Regions from separate parts of the Homo sapiens genome. Here region 2 is linked to region 1. Evidence: promoter capture Hi-C in 16 types of primary human blood cells and fetal thymus (Javierre and others, 2016). All regions are on one chromosome and are shown on one strand. The core of a region is centred on a gene start or on the middle of the fragment in contact, and the rest is flanking DNA. Distances in the headings are between cores, read along the strand shown. Region 1 holds the start of C2CD4A (C2 calcium dependent domain containing 4A). Region 2 holds the start of LOC105370855 (a long non-coding RNA gene).

Region 1 (7,513 bases), core at 3,202-5,701:
CCACACCCGGCTAATTTTTTTGCATTTTTAGTAGAGACAGGGTTTCACTATGTTGGTCAGGCTGGTCTCAAACTCTTGACCTTGTGATCGGCCTGCCTCGGCCTCCCAAAGTGCTGGGATTACAGGCATGAGCCACCGCACCCGGCACAAAATGATTATTAAAGTTCTTTTCAACTCTAAAATTTTATGATTTTATCATTTATGATTCTATCTCAGCCCCTTTAAAACCTTTTTGATTAGACTCAGGTTATTTGATCAACCATAACTTGCCATTAATGGTGATTCTGTTTGGAAATCACCACCACTATTTCATAAAAAATTTAGATCCCTCAAATGCACTGATTTACTTTCACGAAAAAAAATCTACTTAATAAAATGACATGTATATAATCTAGTGACAACAGTTATTGCAACATCTTCTGGAATAAAAACTTGGGCTATTGAAACTATCAATGCCATTTTTTATTTTAAAAACAGAAAAATTAAAACCCACAATTATACGTAGCCAAGTTGTTTTCACTCTCCATTTATTTTCCTTTTAAAGTGCTACATTTGTGAACTCATTAGCAGTTACCCTATCAAAATTTCAAAATCATGAAGAAGGTTATACATAAAAAATGAATGTTGGCTTGAGGGCCAAGGAAATATTGACTGATTAGATAGAAGAGCACATGATAGATCTGAACTACTCTATGTCATCATTCATTTGGTCAACAACTGCAAGCTCCTGGATGTGGCTGATTTTGATAAAGTCATAGAATTCACAGTATTCTTCACATTTGTTCAATGGTCATCATAAATACACATCACAATAACCCTAATTTGTGACTGAAACAGAAACTCTTTTCTTTTTTCTTCGAATTTTGTATAATATTTATTTTATCAAACTCTTTTCTAAATAGCATTTTTAATGAACATGAATGTATAAAACTGTGAACAATTTTAATAAAAGCAGAAACTGGTCGGGCATGGTGGCTCACGCCTATAATCCTAGCACTTTGAGAAGCCAAAGCGGGATGACAGCTTGTGTCAGGAGGTAGAGGCTGCAGTGAGCTATGATCACACCACTGCACTCCAGCCTGGGTGACAGAGTGACGCCTTGTTTCTAAAAGATAAAATGAAATAAAATAAAGCAGAAACCATTTCTGAATCCAGATTGATAATGGAGTCATATTTAACACCATCCTGTATATTTAAATATTTTCAATTTTTTAAACCCTCATTTAGGATGCATTTTCCTATTTGCATAAAAAAAAGAAAAAAATGCCCTGCTGGCAGTGAATTCAAGGGATGAGGGAAAATCGTCCTCTAAAACAGGATTGTTAAATCTGGAATTATTATCAGAAGCCAGAGGTAAAACCATGCTATCTGTACACTCTCCACTGCCTGTTCCAGCAGATAAACTCACCTGGTTACAACAAGGCTGGCACCCATTTCTATGATTCTGAGGCCGGTTAGCTTCCTCCTCAGAGCTTTAGACCCATCAGCTCATCTCAATGCCTGAAGTTATTAGCATGAGATAATAAATTATTCATTTCAAGCAATTTGTTTTTTCACCAAAAGCAGGATGAGGAATACAAGTAGACACGAACTTCAGTGTCAACAGTTTCAGAGAGAAGTTGCACAATACTCGCAACTTTAATAGCGAGCCCTTTAGACACTGTGGTATTACCTACATAAGAGTAATGAGTGAAATGCTGATTGTCTAGGTTCAAATTCTGGCTCTGCTCTTTATTCTGTGCCTCAATATCCTCATCTGTAAAATGGGCATAGCAGTGCCTCCTTTTGGGGGTTAAAACATAAATTAACGCTTGTAAAACTATTTATTATTATTATTATTATTTGCAGACAGGGTCTCACTCCGGTTGCCCAGGTTGGAGTGCAGTGGCACGATCTCGGCTCACTGCAGCCTTGACCTCCCAGGCTCAAGTGATCCTTGCGCCTCAGCCCCAGAGTAGCTGGAACTACAGGTGCGTGCCACCACGTCCGGCTAAATTTTGTATTTTTTATGGAGACGCGGTCTTCCCATGTTGCCCAGCCTGGTCTCAAATTCCTGGGCTCAAGCCATCTGCCCGCCTCGGCCTCCCAAAGTGCCAGGATTACAGGCGTGAGCCGCCACACCTAGCCTATTATAACTATTATTTAAGCTTAGAATATTAAAATGGTTTCATTTTCTCCAATGCTTTTCCAGTGAGATATAGCTAGGAGTATCAGGCTGGCGTTCCAACTAATAATTCACTGTTGATCTTGGACAAGTCACTTCACCTCTTTTGCCCTCATTTTCTTATCCGGGGTCTTAAACAAAATGCTTCAAAAGTAAATGCTCCAAGATGGTCTCCATGCATGTTGTGGAAAGCACCAATTTTAAAATGAGGTGATTGGAGCAAACAGATCGCCAAGACACTTTCTAGTTCTAACACTTCATGTGATTCATTATTTCCTAGGCGTGTGTGGTACATATGGTATGCAAATGGCTGTCTATATTGGGAAACACTGTAGAACCATTCCATTTGCTGAAAAAAATTCTGGAGGTATCTATGGAAAATATCATATCTTTTACTGGGATAGTTAATCTAGAATCATCTCTGCCAGTGTTGTACTGAAACGGGACTGATAAGAACAACAAATACACGTTTATTTTGTACCACGCGGCTGTCAGTGTCCGGAGTCCCCCGGGCAGAGCGCCCCGGGGAGGGCTGGGCCCTCAGAGCAGCAGGAGGGCGCCCAGGGACAGCTCACCCTGGCCCAGCAGGCGGCCCCGCTCCCGGCCGCGGCCCTCGTCCCGGGCCTTGACTCGAACGGCCAGGCGGCGCACTTCGTCCTCCGAGAGGCCGTCGAAGCAGAAGTCCTGGTCAAAGGAGGCCTTGCGGCTGCGCCCCACCACAGTGCTGCATTGCCGAAGCGCGGTGCCCGGCGGCCGCAGGACGAGGCTGAGGCGACAGCTGACGGCTCGGGGCCCGGGGGCGCCTCCGGCCGGGCTCTCGGCGCGGAGCAGCCGGAGGCGGAGCCGCCCGGTTCCCGGACAGTACTCGGCGGCCAGGCGCAGGGCGTCGCCGGCGCGGCCCAGAGCCACGGTGCCCTCGGCCTCCAGGCGCTCGGGAAACGGGACCCGGGACGACGGCGGGCTCGTGGAGGGGGCCCGGGCCGGGGACTGGGAGCCCGCGCGGCGCTCCTTGTCCTCGTTCCCGCTGGAGACGGAGCGGACGCGGGTCAGGCGGCGACTCCTCCCAGCCCGCAGCGCGCGACTCAGCAGCCCGTCGGGGACGCGCAGGAGGCGGCAGCCGCGGGGCCGCCGGGCGAGCGCGTCCTGGGGCGGGCGGGGACAGCCGGGGGCCGCGGGGGTCGCCGGGCCCGGAGCTCGCGGGACGCGCAGGGTCCCCAGGAGGGCGTCCGGGCCGCCGCCGCCGCCGTAGGTGTGGGCCCGGGGCCGGGGCGCGGGCGGGCCCCCGAGCAGGAGCGACTCCTTGCGGCGCGTGTGCGGGCTCTCGAGCAGCGCGCAGAAGCCGTAGGCGGTGCGCACACGGGGCAGGTGCGGCAGTGACAGCGCGGCCTGCGAGCGCGGGTCCCAGTCTGTGCGGCCGGCGCCCTCGTCCATCCCTGCTTCTTCGACCCAAGAATTCCGGAGCGCAGCCAAGGCCAGGCGGGGCATGAGCCGTGGCGGGATGCAGAACTCAGGGATGCGGTCCGGAGTGAGCACATTTGCGCACGCGGCGGTGGTGCGAGACTTGGCTCCGCGGGCCCGACCCGGGAGAAGCCAGTCTCCGCTCCGCCGAAGGCACTCAGGACCCAAGCGGAGTCGCTCCAGGCACCACATCTGGCCACTCTCTGCTGGAGCTTGTCTACCTGCAGTGCACAAAGGCACAAGGATCGTCAGAGCGAGTCCCGCAAGGTGCAGTAAATCCTGTTCCTTTTCTCCTATTAATACTTTCGGGGTGTTTCTTCCTGCCTTTCCCGAAACAAGGCAAACTGCTCTTGCTTGCCGCTATTGCAAACTATTTTTTCAGTGAGCGAAAAACAACTGTTTTTCTTTTGTCCTATCTCAACTGTGTTGTAATACACACTTCGGAGCTTGTTTTAATCCCTCTCCGCCCTGGCTGGCCTAAGGCAGAGATTCACAAAATGCTGGATTGTAACTTCAGTCGCTCTGTTCTCTGTGCCAACGATTGCCTTGCAATCGTTTCCTGACTCTTTGGACCATAGCAGTCTAGTCCTCAGCTAGAATTAAAGTAATTGTTATTCCTTCCGGGAAACTGTGGCTGGTTCTCCCCTTGCAGAGGCAAAGAGCCTCAGACGAATCCCCCAGGGAATTAAGCAAGCCGATGGGTCCCTCCTAAAATACCTGGAGTCCTGCGTCAGATGGGTCTCTGCACCTTTCTGCCTGGGACACCGACCAGGAGAGGCGCTTAGCGGCTGGGAAATTCAAAGCGCGCGCGGCGGGGTTCAGCACCAGTGTTCAAGGACTGCCAGCCTGAGCTTTTATACCTGCCGCTGGGAGCGCTTGCCAGTGGGCCGAGCAGAGGGGCGCTGCCTGGTAACCTGACGCCAGGCTCTTCCCTGTCCCTCTGCCACGTGGCTGGATTTGCTGAGCAAGGTTTGGAGACCCAGTTCTTTCTCTCTCCGGCTTCAGGTGGAGGTGTTTTCCTCGGAAACCCCGAACAAGTTTCTGTTTCCTCACATGCAAAATGGTATTAAGTCTCTACTATACCGCAGAGTCATTGTGAGGATCGACGGGCGTAATGAATGTGAGCACGTAGAAGTACTCTACATTCACCATTAAAATGAAGACAAGTCCGGTTTGTCTTATTCTTGCCTAATACCCTTCCCCAAATCCAGCTTCCCAGTTGCCCAGCTTTCGAAGTTCTTTACTTGCTTTCCGGTTTTCAGTTCTGATTTTAGATGTTCTTTTCTGATTATAAACCCCTCTGGGTTAGGGGGAACATTTCATGTCTTGATCAGGGTGGAGTTACAGAGGTGTATCCATATGTAAAAACAATCAACTAGTGTACACTTAAGATTAGAGTACTTTATTGTATGTTATACATCAATTTAAAAAATCACAATCTACTTCTTAAGCCATGTGTGCTGATTTTTTATCGGGAAAATGTACACTTGCATGCATCTGGGCAGTTGGAATCATCCTTTGGAGGCGCCCTGACTACATCTGGCCTTTCTAGGCTGTGCCCACCAGAGAGACCCTTTTCCTTCCTTTTGAAAACTAACCTGTGTTCATTTTGTAAGAGAGTTGCTTCCAGTTAGCTCAGGCTGAAAGAGATCTGAGGCATTTTGTTCAGCGTTCAGGCAGATATTTCTGCCTAAGATACTGCCTTGCAAACTATTCACTTGTCTAAATAATATTTAATGAATTAAATTGAATTCATGCAAAAATGATTTCAGGATAGGGCATGTGCATTTTGTTTCCAGGACACACAGGCACTGTGCTAGATGATTTACATATAGTCTGTAGAACTGTCACAGAAACCCTGCATATTCGGATCATCCTTATTTTATAGATGAAAACTCAGTTTCAGAGGTCAAGTATCTTATCCAAGGTCACATAATGATGGGAAATGGAGGAAATCATACCTACTAATGGGTATAAATGAGCTGTTTGGGGAAATAATAATGTAAAATATTTTGCACCATGTAACATGGTAAGTGCTAAATACATAGAACTGATTATTATTAATAAAGATAGAAGGAAAGTTGTAAAGTATAGTGGTTAAGAAAATTGGGTCTGAAATTGGATCTACTGTTAATGCCAGAATGGTTGCTATGTGACCTTGAGCAAGTTAACTGTTCTAAGCCACAGTATCAAATTTAAAATTAATAATAGTGTCAACCTATACGGTTATCATGAGTATAAAGTAAGATGGTGAATATGAAGAGTTCAGCATAGGGCATGACATACACAATGTCGGATATAATATTATTATTACAGAAGAGAGCAAATGCTCATTAGTTCATTCATTCAAAGTAACATGTACTGAATGTTTTCTAGGTTCCAGCCATCATGTTAGGCAAGTGGATACAGGTTGGCTGTACAAGATCATATCAGCTATGTAAATCCATAAATGATGGAGTAAAATGATGAGGATAAACTATTTGAATTCCATCTGGGTGAGGCAGGCGTGAGAAGAGACTACCGAACATTATTTATTTAGTTATTTATTTTTAAGACAGGGTCTTACTCTCTTGCCCAGGCTGGAGTGCAGTGGTACAATCTTGGCTCACTGCAACCTCTGCTTTCTAGGCTCAAGCAATCCTCCAACCTCAGCCTCCCAAGTAGCTGAGACTACAGGCATGAGCCACCAGGCCCGACTAACTTTTTTTTTTTTTTGGAGAGATGGAGTTTCAACATGTTGACCAGGCTGGTCTTGAACTCCTGGGCTCAAAGTGATCCGCCCACCTCAGCCTCCCAAAGTGCTAGGACTATAGGTGTGAGCCACTGTACCTGGCCTGAACATTACTTATATGTTTCTAGTAGGGGGCAGGATTGGTGGGTCTCTGGATTTACTGTGTCCTTGAATAGCTATTTTTTTTTTTTTTTTTTGAGACAGGGGCTCACTCTGATGCCCAGGCTGGAGTGCAGTGGTGCAATCAAGGGCACTTCAACCTCAACTTCTCAGGCTCAGGTGATTTTCCCATGTCCCCCTCCTGAGTAGCTGGGACTACAGGCATGCACCACTACCTGGCTAATTTTTATATTTTTTATAGACATGGGATTTTGCCATGTTGCCCAGGCTGGTCTCAAACTCCTGGGCTCAAGAGATCCCCCAGCCTCGGCTTCCCAAAGTGTTGGGATTACAGGTGCGAGCCACTAAGCCCAGCCTACTTCTTTGTCTTGAAATCACCTCTACTCTTTGCCAAAATTCTTGGGCCAGGGCTAAATCTATGGGAAAAGTTTTATCAAATTATATACTTGAGGGCCATGTGCATGTGTTCTGACTCAGCTTTTCCTGGGAGACAAGAATGTTGTTAGCCCTGTTGAGAGCTCTTGGTTAAAGTGATTAGGAGCACAGATCAGAGTTTACAGTCTGAGAAGTTGGCTGAAAAGTTGTTAAGCAAGTTAATGAACCTGTCTGAGCTCAAGTTATAAAATGAGGGTAATAATACCGACCACATTAAGATTGTTGTGGGGGTTAAAAAGATATGCATGAAAATGCTTGGTTGGCAGTTAAACACTAGCTAACAGTTATTATTATTACTATCATTTTATTATGAATGTTTGCTTGGGCAGGGATTAGCTGATTCATACATGGATTCCTTTAAAAACATTTTTCTCCTCAGGCAAGCAAAGCAGATCTACTTTGTTTTTATTAATGATTCACCTTCTTTAGTAACACCTTAATAGCATTTCCTGTACATGATTTTTTGAAAATAGCAGAGATTTGCCATTGCGTGGCTGGTCCCTGTGACCCTGTTAAGCCTTATGTTTTACTTAACTCGGAAGCACGAACCAACCACCCAGTACTTGGGAGAATGGTGTAACAGGGTGCCCGGAACACACAAATCT
Region 2 (7,513 bases), core at 3,339-5,838, 620 kb before region 1:
CAGAGTGAGAGACTGTCTCCAAAAAAAACAGGTCTCCTAATAACCAAGATGTCTAGGATGTCTTAAAAAAATAAATATTCATATCGAGAGCCAGGACACCCACAATATGAATGACAGATCATCAACTCATGCCAACACTGAAATAAATCAGATATTGGAATTATAAGGATTTTAAAGCAACCATCATAAAAATGCTTCACCAATAAATTGCAAATTCTCTTGCAGCAAATTTTAAAGAATAAAAAGTTCAAACAAAGAAACAGAAGTCATAAAAAAGAACCAAATGGAAATTACAGAACTGAAAAAGGCAATAACCAAAATTTTAAAACTCACAGGATAGACTAAATAGTAGTGTGGAGATAATAAAAAATAAAATCAGTAAACCTGAAAATAGATCAACAGAATTTAGTCAATCTGAACAATATAGAGAAAAGAAACTAAAAAACAGAGCTTCACGGACTTATAGGACAGTAACAAAAGATCTAACATTAATATCATCAGAGTAACAGGAGAGGACAGTGTTGGATAAAAATAGAGTAGCTGAAGAAATAATGACTGAAAACTTCCCCAAATTAGTGAAGACTTAAACCCACAAATTCAAGAAGCTGAGTGAACTCCAAATAGAAGAAATCTTAAGAAGCCCATACCCCTCCCCCTCCCCTCCCCCTCCCCCTCTCCCTCTCCCTCTCCCACGGTCTCCCTCCCCCTCTCTTTCCACGGTCTCCCTCTGATGCCGAGCCGAAGCTGGACTGTACTGCTGCCATCTCGGCTCACTGCAACCTCCCTGCCTGATTCTCCTGCCTCAGCCTGCCGAGTGCCTGCGATTGCAGGCGCGCACCGCCACGCCTGACTGGTTTTCGTATTTTTTTTGGTGGAGACGGGGTTTCGCTGTGTTGGCCGGGCTGGTCTCCAGCTCCTAACCGCGAGTGATCCGCCAGCCTCGGCCTCCCGAGGTGCCGGGATTGCAGACGGAGTCTGGTTCACTCAGTGCTCAATGGTGCCGAGGCTGGAGTGCAGTGGCGTGATCTCGGCTCGCTACAACATCCACCTCCCAGCTGCCCGCCTTGGCCTCCCAAAGTGCCGAGATTGCAGCCTCTGCCCGGCCGCCACCCCGTCTGGGAAGTAAGGAGCGTCTCTGCCTGGCCGCCCATCGTCTGGGATATGAGGAGCCCCTCTGCCTGGCTGCCCAGTCTGGAAAGTGAGGAGCATCTCTGCCCGGCCGCCATCCCATCTAGAAGTGAGGAGCGCCTCTTCCCGGCCGGCCGCCATCACATCTAGGAAGTGAGAAGCGTCTCTGCCCGGCCGCCCATCGTCTGAGATGTGGGGAGCGCCTCTGTCCCGCCGCCCCGTCTGGGAGGTGAGGAGCGCCTCTGCCCGGCCGCGACCCCGTCTGGGAGGTGAAGAGCGTCTCTGCCCGGCCGCCCCGTCTGAGAAGTGAGGAGCCCCTCCGCCCGGCAGCCGCCCTGTCTGAGAAGTGAGGAGCCTCTCCGCCCGGCAGCCACCCCGTCTGGGAAGTGAGGAGCGTCTCCGCCTGGCAGCCACCCCGTCCGGGAGGGAGGTGGGGGGGTCAGCCCCCTGCCTGGCCAGCCGCCCCGTCCGGGAGGGAGGTGGGGGGGGGTCAGCCCCCCGCCCGGCCGGCCGCCCCGTCCGGGAGGTGAGGGGCGCCTCTGCCCGGCCGCCCCTACTGGGAAGTGAGGAGCCCCTCTGCCCGGCCAGCCGCCCCGTCCGGGAGGGAGGTGGGGGGGTCGGCCAGCCGCCCCATCCGGGAGGGAGGTGGGGGGGGTCAGCCCCCCGCCTGGCCAGCTGCCCCGTCCGGGAGGGAGGAAGGGGGGTCAGCCAATAAAAAAAAAAAAAAAAAAAAAAAAAAAAAAAGAAGCCCATACCAAGAATTTTGAAAACTAGAGATAAAAATATCTTAAAAACAGCCACAGAAAAATGACATATTACCTACAAATTGACACCAACTTGAATGACAGCAAATTTATCATTAGAAACCATGGAGGTAAGAAAGAAGTGGCATGACACTTTTCAGATACTAAAAGAAAGGAACTGTCAATCCCAAATGCTGTACCTGGCAAAATTATCCTTCATGAATGAAGGGGAAATAATAACATTCTCAGAGGAAAAAAACACAAAGTCAATTTGTTGCTAGCAGATGTACCCTTAACAAATAGCTAAAGGAAGCTCTCCAAACACAAAATGATAACAGAAGAAGGCTGGGAACTTTAGAAAGGCAAGAAGAACAATGGGGTAGATAAAAATAAAGGGAAGTGTAATAGACGGTTCTTCACCTCATGAGTTTCTTTCATCACATTTTGTGTTCAAAGCAGAAGCTGTAACACCATCTTATGTGGTTATAGACAAAATAACCATCTTATGTGTATACTGAAAAAATATTTAAATAATTATACTCAAAAAGTGTGGGGAGTGGGTAGGTAAAAAGACCTAAATGGAAGTAAGGTTTCTACACTTAAGGGGGAAAAGCCATTACCAGTAGACTGTGTTTAATTTCATATGGACATGGTAATATCCAAAATAACCACTAAGAACACTACACAAAGTGATATGCTCAAAACGTAACACACAAAGCAAACAAACTCTAAAAAGGTGTCCAAGTAACCCACAGAAAAGGCAAAAAAAAAAAAAAAAAGAGAGAGAGAAATAAAGTGGACAAACAGAAAAACTACAAAATGATAGACTTGGGCCCTAACATATCAATAATTAGCTTAAATATAGTGTAAATATACCAATTAAAACTGAGATAGAATGGATTAAAAAAATATAACCCAACTAATTATGCTCTCTACAAGAATTCATTTCAAATATAACAGTATATGCAAGTTGAAAATAAAAGGATGGAAAAAGATGTATCATGCCCACATTAGTTTTATAAAAAGCATTGGTGGCTATGTCAACATTAGATACAGTAGACTTCAGAGAAAAACAAAAATTACTAACAGAAAATAACATTACATAAGGAAAAAACAACTTCTCTGTTAAGATAGAGGAATCTTAAATGTACAGGCATCAAACAACAAAGCTTCAAATTACATGAAACAAAAACTGAGAGCTGAAAGAAAAAGTAGAAAAATCCATAATTACTGTTAAGAACCTCACTCTCGGCAACTGAGAAAACTGCCAGGCAGAAAATTAACAAAGATATTCATTCAAAAGACTGGAACACCACCATCAACTAATAGGGATCTAACTGGTATTTATAGAGCCCACTTTACATGATAATAGCAGAATATATGTTCTTTTTGAATACTCGTAGAACACTCACCAAAAAGGATATCCTGGGATATAAAAACAAACCTTAAAATTTCAAAAGGACTGAAATCATACAGAGTATGTTCTCTGACCATAATGGAATCAAACTAAAAAATCAATAGTAGAAAGACAGCAGAAAAACCTCTAAACACTTGGAAATTAAATAAAGGCTAGGAGTAGGAAGGAAAAAATCACTACGTATAATGGGCTTTAATGTGACGTTATGCTTTAATCAAAATACTGTTATTCTCTCTTTTGCCTGAGGTAGTTAATGAGGTTATCATAACTATTCATTTTTTAAATAAATTTTTGTTTTCAATAAATACTTGGACCTAGTTTAAAAAGACCAATAGTATTACAAGATGTAAAACAAAACACAGTTGTTCCCTGTCCTACCCATTCCCAACTTCACTTTCTACCACATACCTCTCCAAAGGTAACCACTTTCAACTCTTTTAGCAGTTGCTTCTAGTATTTCTAAATAATATGTTTATATTGATTTCTTGATTTTTCTAATTTAGAAATCATCCATGACTTCCTGCAATGGAAGATGAGGACACAGCTAAGTATGAACATTCATCTTTTGAGGGCCACACAGGCACAAATGTTACAGCTACAAGAGGAAAGAAGGTATGTTTTCTGATGATTCCTTATAATTGGCAGGAACCTATCAATCTATAGTCAAATTAGATAACTAATGACTCTTTCCATGGCCCCTTCTTTACACAGTTTTTTTTCTGATGTCCTATTATGATATCTTGCATAGATAAGAGGTGATATTTCAAGCATTCACTAGAGACTTCAAGAGTCTTAAGAACTGACAAATTCTAGCACTTTTTGATTTTTCTTATTGCACATCTTGCCCTACCAACCACCCGCTCTATTGTGTTTCACATGTAAATGTGGCTATAGTTAAGGCATAGAGTTATACTCTGCTAACAACAAATGTTGAAATCAGGAGGAAGAATTCAGAGGTCTGAAGACCTGAAACAAACATATTCTCACTACTTTCCATAAATTTTATACTAAGCATCTTATCTTCATCTTATTCAATCCTAGCAGCTCTGTAGGTAGGACTATCACCATTTTATAGCTGAAGAAATTAAGGCTCAGAGAGGAAAGGTAACTTGAACAAGGTCACACAGCTGGGAAATGACAAACTGGATTTCTATAATAATACTATCCTAAAGTCCACGTTATTTCCACTGTGTACTATGCTCTCTTTCTAGGCAGGCTGGGAAAACATTCCTCAGCAAGATAATCACAATGCTTAGGACCATCTAAAACAGAGAGGGGGCCTTTGTGTCTCAGAGCACTAGAAAGTTTCCTTTCAGTATATGCTAGGGATGTCATCAGGAACACAGAACTGAGAATCATCTGGGTGAGTGGCTTTTTCTAGATAATGAACTAGAGGCTGACTTATGTAGAGTGCAGAGAAGCAGTAGTGCCTGAAGAAACCCAGGCTTGCTGACCTCTCTTTTACTTCTGGACCCATCCCCTTCCCTGCCCATGGGCTTGCACCATCTTCCTCACTCCACGCTGGCTCTCCCAGGCCAGAGAAACCCAATGGGCAAGAATCTGGTCTTTCTCCTGTCCCCACAATATCACTCAAGGCCACGCTAGTGCTCTCCTTGCCCTCTGCCAGTCCCTACCAGTGTGAAGCTCTTGGGTGAGGCTGCCCAGCGCTTGACGGTGGTGAGGGGCCACTCCTGCAGCACTTCCTTGGTCTTCTCATCCACGCGCATCACCGAGTCTTTGGTGATCCCCAGCAGGCGAGGCACCAGCTTGTTCTTGCCTTTCATCTTCTCCTGAAACAGGAGATACCAAGAGTCAGTGCTCTTCTTCTGAATACATCTGACTTTGCCAGGGAATCAGTGATTTTTTGACCTTTCACCTGCATACACTGTCTTTCAAAACAGGTAGGGCTATAGGGAAACCAAGATTTTGAGGCTAGGTGAATAACTCATTAAACTAAAGGCATGGGAACTCAAACAAAGACATGAGAAGACTGGAAAGAGCCACAAAATCATGCCCCCTGTTCAGGAGAGCAGCTTGCTCCAAAAACAGACGATGCCAGAAAGATGGGATAGAACTGAAAAGACATCCAGAGAAAAACAAGCAAAGGTGAATTCCAGGTACTATCACTCCCAGTGGCCAACTCAGTGAGTAACAAACAAGGGTTAATCTGAGATTTAAAATTAACTTAACTAAAACTCTGTCAAAGTAGAATCTTCTCATTATGAGGAGACACAGCTTCCTGCCCTTTTTTTTAAATCTCTGAAATATATTTCTGTTTGGATTCTTTGTTTTGGAATTTTGTATATCTACTGATTCTTAAAACTTATTTTATAACTAGTTTTAATAATGTTTTAAGATATAGTAATGTCTATTAAAATAATGGAACCCTAGCTCACACTCATACCAAAACAAATTAAAGACAGAGACAGATTAATAATTTAGGAAGAACATCCAAGTGGATATTTTTGTGATCCTTGGGTGACAAATGATTTCCTAAGAAAAACACCAACATAAGAAGCCATAAAGGAAACGATTAATATGCTTAACTCAAAATATACATACTTTTGATAGACCAGGGGGAGGAGAGCAGAAGCTAAAGAAACCTCATAAAAAATGAAAAAGACTGGGCAATAAATATTTACAATGAATGTAATGGCAATAGACTTCATATACTGTCTATGTGATGTGTTCATAAATCAACAAAATAACTGCTGAAGAATATGAACAGAAAATGTTTTTAAAATAAATAAGCAAATAAGTTTTCACTTAAAATAGCTAAGGTTTCTTATTAAAATTAATACTCAGATTTGAGGAAGATGTGAAGCGGGTCACTAGTGATGAAAGCTTAAGATAGCAAAGCCTTCATGGGGGAAAATGTGTCACTATCTATCCAAACCCTTAAAAAGTCCTTACTTTTGACACAGCTAGCTTTGAGAAATTTAGTTTAAAAAAAAGTTATAAATGTGTGTAAAGATTATGCCACATGAAGCTCAACCACAGTACATCATAGTGAAAAGCTAGAAACCACCCAATTTTCAGACAACATTAGGCCCATTCAGGGTGGTATGGCTGTAGATGAAACAATCCAAGTTTTCAATAACACAGGACTTGATACATAAATTATGATATATCCAGATAACAGATTACCCTACATTATTAAAAATCATATTGTAGAAAAACAATTGGTTTTATGGAAGTAAATTATTCATAATATATTATTAAAAAACAGAATATAGGGCCTAATCTTAGAGGAAATAAAAATTTAAAAATAGGCCTATGTCCATTACATGAAAAAGGCACTGAACATCTCATGTGTTTTGTATTATTTTTTCATGCTTTTCCTTATTTCCAAAATTTCACTATTAAGTGTGTATTTTTAGGGCTGTCAGGAAAACCTTTTCAACTCATATTTGCTGAAACCTAGCAACAACACCTAAACTGCTATTCTCAGAGGCCTAGATATATACATTCACACAAAGTATCTATGCATTTGTGGATGTGTCTACACACACCCAACACAGGGTAATGGCACATAAAACAGAGCTGGAACATACTAGATACTTAATAAGCACCATCTGTTAATCTTCAGAGCATCTCCAAAACACTGGTATCATCATTTTTCACTTTGCAAGTGAAGAGACCAAAGCCAACAGTGGTGAGTGGTAAAGCCATAATTTGAACATAGATTTGAGTAGCTCAAAAATATCTCTGACTTCAAAAGCTGACTGTCTACTGCAGTTTACTGTCTTCTGGTGGAAGCAAAAAGAGAAAAGGCCAAATCCTACCCACCCCCAACCGCCCTCACCATGGGCATCTGGTAACCCTCAGATGGTGACAGTCACCGCACACCCCCAGCTTCCTCACGGAGGACACCATGGTATGAGGAATCTACCTGGGTGTCTGAGGAGGGGAATATTCCTCCCTGAACCTCAAGTCTTAAAAAACACTGACAAGCGTCAGATTTTTTTCAAAGAGAGGGCAGTTCCACAAGGGGTGAGATCAGTGCAGGGCAGACAATGTCAGTTAATCTACTTTGGCTTCAGGAGCCACACAGAGTTTTAGCTTGATAGGCTCTAGGCAGCTAATTTAGTCACACAGGGTTGGCACAATCCCAGCTTCTGGGACCCAGGAAGGGGACTGGAGATAAAATATGGTTTGCAGCTGCTTCCTTCATTCTTTCCCATCTGCACTGTTCCCCAGTGAGGGCTTCTGGGGTGCGGGAACA

The links. Contacts are between HindIII fragments. The CHiCAGO score rates a contact against its expected background, and 5 or more counts as called.
Region 2: a contact is called between a fragment that was not itself captured here and the fragment with the promoter of C2CD4A in region 1, in 1 of 17 cell types (M0 macrophages). The highest score is 5.0, in M0 macrophages.

The regions. Positions count from the first base shown.
Region 1 is chr15:62,063,915-62,071,427 of GRCh38, reverse strand. C2CD4A (C2 calcium dependent domain containing 4A) reads right to left here and starts at 4,451. Exons shown (of 2, transcript NM_207322.3): 1 at 4,340-4,451; 2 at 511-3,843. The coding sequence starts at 3,814. The coding sequence ends at 2,705. RefSeq lists silencers at 2,622-3,111, 3,162-3,301, 3,432-3,481, 4,344-4,638 and enhancers at 3,712-4,227, 4,628-4,797. The HindIII fragment of the contact is 6,406 bases long and covers 2,150-7,513 here.
Region 2 is chr15:62,684,206-62,691,718 of GRCh38, reverse strand. It overlaps TLN2 (talin 2), which reads right to left. Exons shown (of 59, transcript NM_015059.3): 12 at 4,923-5,078. It overlaps LOC105370855 (a long non-coding RNA gene), which reads left to right and starts at 3,694. Exons shown (of 5, transcript XR_007064673.1): 1 at 3,694-3,900. RefSeq lists an enhancer at 385-1,239. The HindIII fragment of the contact is 3,092 bases long and covers 3,043-6,134 here.